Regions from separate parts of the Homo sapiens genome. Here region 1 is linked to region 2. The links are contacts of gene promoters, found by promoter capture Hi-C in human tissues and cell types (Jung and others, 2019). All regions are on one chromosome and are shown on one strand. Each heading gives the region's core, a stretch centred on a gene start or on the middle of the fragment in contact. The rest is flanking DNA. Distances are from core to core; before and after follow the strand shown.

Evidence for each region. Contacts are between HindIII fragments. The study calls those that stand out against the background at their distance.
Region 1: a contact is called between a fragment that was not itself captured here and the fragment with the promoter of TSKS in region 2, in 1 of the 25 tissues and cell types used here (pancreas).

What each region holds. Positions count from the first base shown.
Region 1 is chr19:49,703,222-49,705,921 of GRCh38, reverse strand. It overlaps CPT1C (carnitine palmitoyltransferase 1C), which reads right to left. Exons shown (of 20, transcript NM_001199753.2): 8 at 1,135-1,212; 9 at 808-915; 10 at 624-708; 11 at 1-13. Among named protein-coding and RNA genes, the nearest start is that of CPT1C, 13 kb to the right of the region's middle. The HindIII fragment of the contact is 9,065 bases long and covers 1-2,700 here.
Region 2 is chr19:49,762,056-49,764,755 of GRCh38, reverse strand. It overlaps TSKS (testis specific serine kinase substrate), which reads left to right and starts at 1,450. Exons shown (of 11, transcript NM_021733.2): 1 at 1,450-1,678; 2 at 2,524-2,700. The coding sequence starts at 1,509. It also overlaps the pseudogene RNU6-841P. RefSeq lists an enhancer at 2,697-2,700. The HindIII fragment of the contact is 39,317 bases long and covers 1-2,700 here.

The DNA.
Region 1 (2,700 bases), core at 76-2,575, 59 kb after region 2:
TGGCGGATGTAGTCTAGGGGTGGCGTTGGCAGAAGCATGGGGGCAGGAAGGCCAGACACATAAAAATAGTGACCATTTATTATATACTTCTTAGGTGTCGTCAGTTGTTCAAAGTACCCTAGTAATCATCAGCACCCTAGGACTTTTATTTACTTAGTATTTGGAGACAAGGTCTCGCTCTGTCGCCAGGCTGGAGTGCAGTGGTGAGATCTCAGCTCACTGCAGCCTCAACCTCCGGGGCTCAGGTGATCCTTCCACTTCAGGCTCCCGATTAACTGGGGCCACAGGTGCATATCACCATGCCTGGCTAATTTTTAAATTTTGTATATAGACCGGATCTCACTACGTTGCCCTAGGCTGGTCTCGAACTCCTGGCCTAAGCAATTGTCCACCTCGGCCCCACAAAGTGCTGGGATTACAGGCATCAGTCACTGCGCCCAGCCCCTAGGTACAATTATTATCCCACTTTAGTGGAAGCTGAGGCTCAGAGAGGGTAATAACGTGCAGAAGGTCACACAGCAAGGAAGCAATGGTTCCCAGCTCAGTCAGGCGGACTCCAGAAAACATGCTCTTAGCCACTATATTGTTCTGCCTCCATCAGTGGGGACAGGAGAGGGTCTCACCTTTTTGGACCCCTGGAATCCGCGTGGTGTTGAAGATCTTCTCGTACTGGGCAGAGCATAAGGGGCGCATTCCCATCAGCAAAGTCTGCAGGAAACCGTGGGCTGTGAGCTGCCTTCCAGGACCCACGTGGCCCAAAGGCCACAGGACCACACCTCCATCCCTAACCCACTGGGGCCCTCTCACCGGGGGTATCTCCTGGCGGTTCAGGCGGTGGCGGTACAGGAGGAGGGCATGGACGGCATTCCCAGCGCGAGCTGCCTGCAGAGGCGTGGGTGTGACATACAGGAAGTCCTGGGGACCAGGAGAGGGGATGGCAAAACACCCAGGGTCAGGTTTGCCCCCGATGGAGCCACTGACCCAAATACAGGTCCTGACCCCAAAAGAGGGTGGAATGATGAATCCCAGATGGCGCGTCTAGATCCAGGTCACTGAGCATGACCGTCACATTCCGCCCAGGTACCCCCCAACCCTAGACCTGGGGCCTATGAACCTCACCCCTCCCCTTCTCACCATCATGTAATAGTTGCTGTTCACCATCAGCGGATTTCGGGAGCGCAGGTACACAAATTCCTCCCACCAGTCACTGACCTGGGAGCGGGGTGGGGAGACACACAGTGAGGGGCTGGGGCCTGTTGGGGGAGGGACAGTAGGACAGGGAAGGCCCCAGATGCTCCTGCGTCAGGCAGGGAGGATAGAGCCAAAGAAGTCAGCCATCGTAGTCAGTAACTAGCGATCACCTAGAAATCCATCCATGGGGGATCAGTTAGCTAAACCCTGTTATACTCCGGCAGTGGAATATTACATAGCTGGTGGAAATAACAAGGTACAGCTGGGCACGGTGGCTCCCGCCTGTAATCCCAGCACTTTGGGAGGCTAAGCGGGTGGATCACCTGAGGTCAGGTGTTCAAGACCAGCCTGGCCAACATGATGAAACCCTGTCTCTACTAAAAATACAAACATTAGCCACACGTGGTGGTGCACGCCTGTAATCCCGGCTACTCGGTAGCCTGAGGCAGGAGAATCGCTTGAGTCGGGGAGGCAGAGGTTGCAAGGAGCTGAGATCGCACCATTGCACTCCAGCCTGGGCAACAAGAGTGAAACTCCGTCCCCCCCAAAAAAGAAAAACAGAACATAAATGTAAAATTTATAAAACAATAAATATGTGAAATAATATACATATGTGTAAATACATGAAAATTGTGGCCTTGCCAATACCATGATAAAATTCAAACAATGAAAAACACAAAAGAAAGCACTGTGTCACGGTTTAGCTGCTCTTGTAGGGTTTTTTGTTGTTGTTGTTGTACATAAAAAAATGGTGCGTGTGTCACTGGCAGTTGGCTTGGAGGTACAATAAAATATACAGGCTGGGCGCAGTGGCTCACACCTCTTATCTCAGCATTTTGGGAGGCTGAGGTGGGAGGATAGCTTGAGCCTCGGAGTTTGAGACCAGTCTGTGCAACATAGCAAGACCCCATGTCTACAAAAAATTTAAAAATTAGCCAGGCTTAGGGGCACATGCCTGTAGTCCCAGCTACTCAGGAGGCTGAGATGGGAGGATGGCTTGAGTCTGGGAGGTCAAGGCTGCAGTGAGCTTTGATCACGCCACTGCACTACAGCCTGGGTGACAGAGTGAGACCCCTTCCAAGAAAGAAAAAGGAAAGAGAGAGAAAGAGAGAAGGAAGGAAGGAAGGAAGGAAGGGAGGGAGGGAGGGAGGGAGGGAGGGAGGGAGGAGAGAGAGACAGAAAGGGAGGGAGGGGGAGAGAGAGAAAGATAGAGAAAGAAAGAAAGAAAGAGGCCGGGCATGGTGGCTCACGCCTGTAAATCCCAACACTTTGGGAGGCCGAGGCAGGCGGATCACGAGGTCAGGAGGTCGAGACCATCCTGGCTAACACGGTGAAACCCCATCTCTACTAAAAATACAAAAATACAAAAAAAAAAAAAAAGAAATTAGCCAGGTATGGGAGGCTGAGGCAGGAGAATGGCGTGAACCTGGGAGGTAGAGCTTGCAGTGAGCTGAGACGGTGCCAGTGCACTACAGCCTGGGCGACAGAGTGAGACTCCATCTCAAAGAA
Region 2 (2,700 bases), core at 201-2,700:
CAGGAAGAAGTACTTTCTCCCTGGGGATAACAGCATTTAAAATGTCTATTAGCAGTGATGTTTGAACTAGTCTTTTTGAGAAGTGTGAAGAGAACAGGAAAAGTCTGTCCCTAAATAGCAGGGCAGTGCTCGCTTCGACAGCACATGTATTAACATTGGAACGATACAGAGAAGATTAGCATGGGCCCTGCGCAAAGACCACATGCAAATTTGTGACATGTTCCATATATTTTTTAAATACTTTGGGCGGGCGGGGCGCAGTGGCTCACACCTGTAATTCCAATGCTTTGGGAGGCTGAAGTGGGCAGATCACGAGGTCAGGAGTTGGAGACTAGCCTAGCCAACACAGTGAAACCCTGTCTCTACTAAAAATACAAAAAAAAAATTAGATGGGTGTGGTGGCAGGTACCTGTAGTCCCAGCTACTCAGGAGGCTGAGGCAGGAGAATCGCTTGAAACTGGGAGGTAGAGGTTGCAATGAGCCAAGATCACGCCACTGCACTCCAGCCTGGGTGTCAGAGCGAGACTCCATCTAAAAAAAAAAAAAAAAAATTATAGCGGAGCATGGTGGCTCATGTCTGTAATCCCACACTTTGGGAGGCTAAGGCGGGTGGACCATTTGAGGTCGGGAGTTTGAGACCAACTTGGCCAACATGGTGAAACCCGTCTCTACTAAAAATACAAAAATTAGCCGGACATTGTGGCCAGCGCCTGTAGTCCCAGCTACTGGGGAGGCTGAGGCAGGAGAATCGGTTGAACCCCGGGAGGTGGAGGTTGCAATGAGCTGAGATCGCGCCACTGAACTCCAGCCTCCATGACAGAGAGAGACTCTGTCTCAAAAAAAATAAAAAGTATTAAAGAAAATAATAAATAAATAAACGGGGGAGGGGGATACCACCCTCTGTCCTGCCCCAACTCTCTACCTTCCTCTCCTCCCTCACCTTCTACCCTGACCCCGAGGCCCACCGCACCTAGCTTTCTTTTGTTGATCTACCTGTATATTGCCTTTCCCCCGACCCCGACGCCCCATAGAATATGAGACCCTCCAGGTCAGGGTCTGGATCTCAGCCCTCTTCGACCACAGTCTCTCAAACCCCAGCCAATTGTCAAATCCAGGAAGCTACATGAAGAATCAAGAACAAGTGCACAGGGCTGTGTGACCCCACGCTTAGTCTCAGGGAGAGGGAAGTTGGACCTCTCCCAAGAATCCGTGGGCCGACCCATTGTTAAGTTACAGGCTAGCATGAATCCATCCACTGGAGCTCTGAAGACGGGGGGCACATTGGGCATGTAACTAGAATCCTGAACAGGAGGAGTCCACTGAGAACCCTAGGGGAATGACCTGGGCCAGCATCTCTCCCTACCCTGTGCCCCCCACTCACTGGGGCCCAGTGGTTGGGTCCTTTGTGAGGCAGGCTGAGGGGACAGTGGATCCTGAGGGTCTGTGGTCACAGTAGGTAGGAAGTCTCAGAGGAAGGAGCCCCTCCCTGGGAGCCAGACCCCCACACCATGGCGAGCGTGGTGGTGAAGACGATCTGGCAGTCCAAAGAGATCCATGAGGCCGGGGACACCCCCACGGGGGTGGAGAGCTGCTCCCAGCTAGTCCCAGAGGCTCCCCGGAGGGTGACCAGCCGGGCCAAGGGGATCCCGAAGAAAAAGAAGGCCGTGTCGTTCCACGGGTGGGTTTGTTGCACACTGTCAGGGATGGTTCTAATGCCCAGCACTACCTCCAACAGAGCAGGAGTCCGACTGTGGGTGCTAGAGGAAGGGGAGGGGGAAAAGCCAGCAGGTCGGGGGCAGGAAAGAGGGCAGCAGTGAAGAGACATCAAGTCACAGGGAGGTAGAGAGGAAGAAGGTAATGGGGATGGATGGAGGGAGGAAGAAGGTAATGGGGATGGATGGAGAGAGGAAAAAGCCAGTGGGGAGGGAAGAAGGAGAAGGGAGGCTAGTGAATGAAGAAGAAAGTAGGTGGCAGAGAAGGGAGGAGAAAGTAGGCAGCGGGGAAGGAGAAGAAGAAAGTAGACAGTGGTGGTCGGGCACGGTGGCTCACGCCTGTAATCCCAGCACTTTGGGAGGCCGAGGCAGGTGGATCATGAGGTCAGGAGTTCAAAACCAGCTTGGCCAACATGGTGAAAAGCCATCTCTACTAAAAATACTAAAATTAGCTGGGCGTGATGGCACATGCCTATAACCCCAGCTACTCAGGAGGCTGAGGCAGGAGAATTGCTTGAACTGGGACCCGCAGTCGGAGGTTGCAGTGAGCTGAGATCGCGCCACTGCACTCCAGCCTGGGCAACAGAGTGAGACTCTGTCTCAAAAAAAAAAAAAAAAGAAAGAAAGAAAAAAGAAAGAAAGTAGGCAGCACAGGGAAGGAGAATAAAGTAGGCAGCGGGGACAGAGAAGGGAGAAACTTATATACAGTGAGGGTGGAGTCACAGGGGGTGAGGTATGGAGAAAGGAAGGCAGGAGGGCCCAGACACCCTGGGGCTGCTTCTCCACTTTTCTGCCTGTTTCTTCTCTGCAGGGTGGAGCCCCAGATGTCCCATCAGCCCATGCACTGGTGCCTGAACCTCAAACGGTCCTCGGCCTGCACCAACGTGTCACTGCTCAACCTGGCCGCCATGGAGCCCACTGACTCCACGGGGACAGACTCCACAGTGGAAGACCTCAGCGGCCAACTCACACTGGCTGGGCCCCCTGC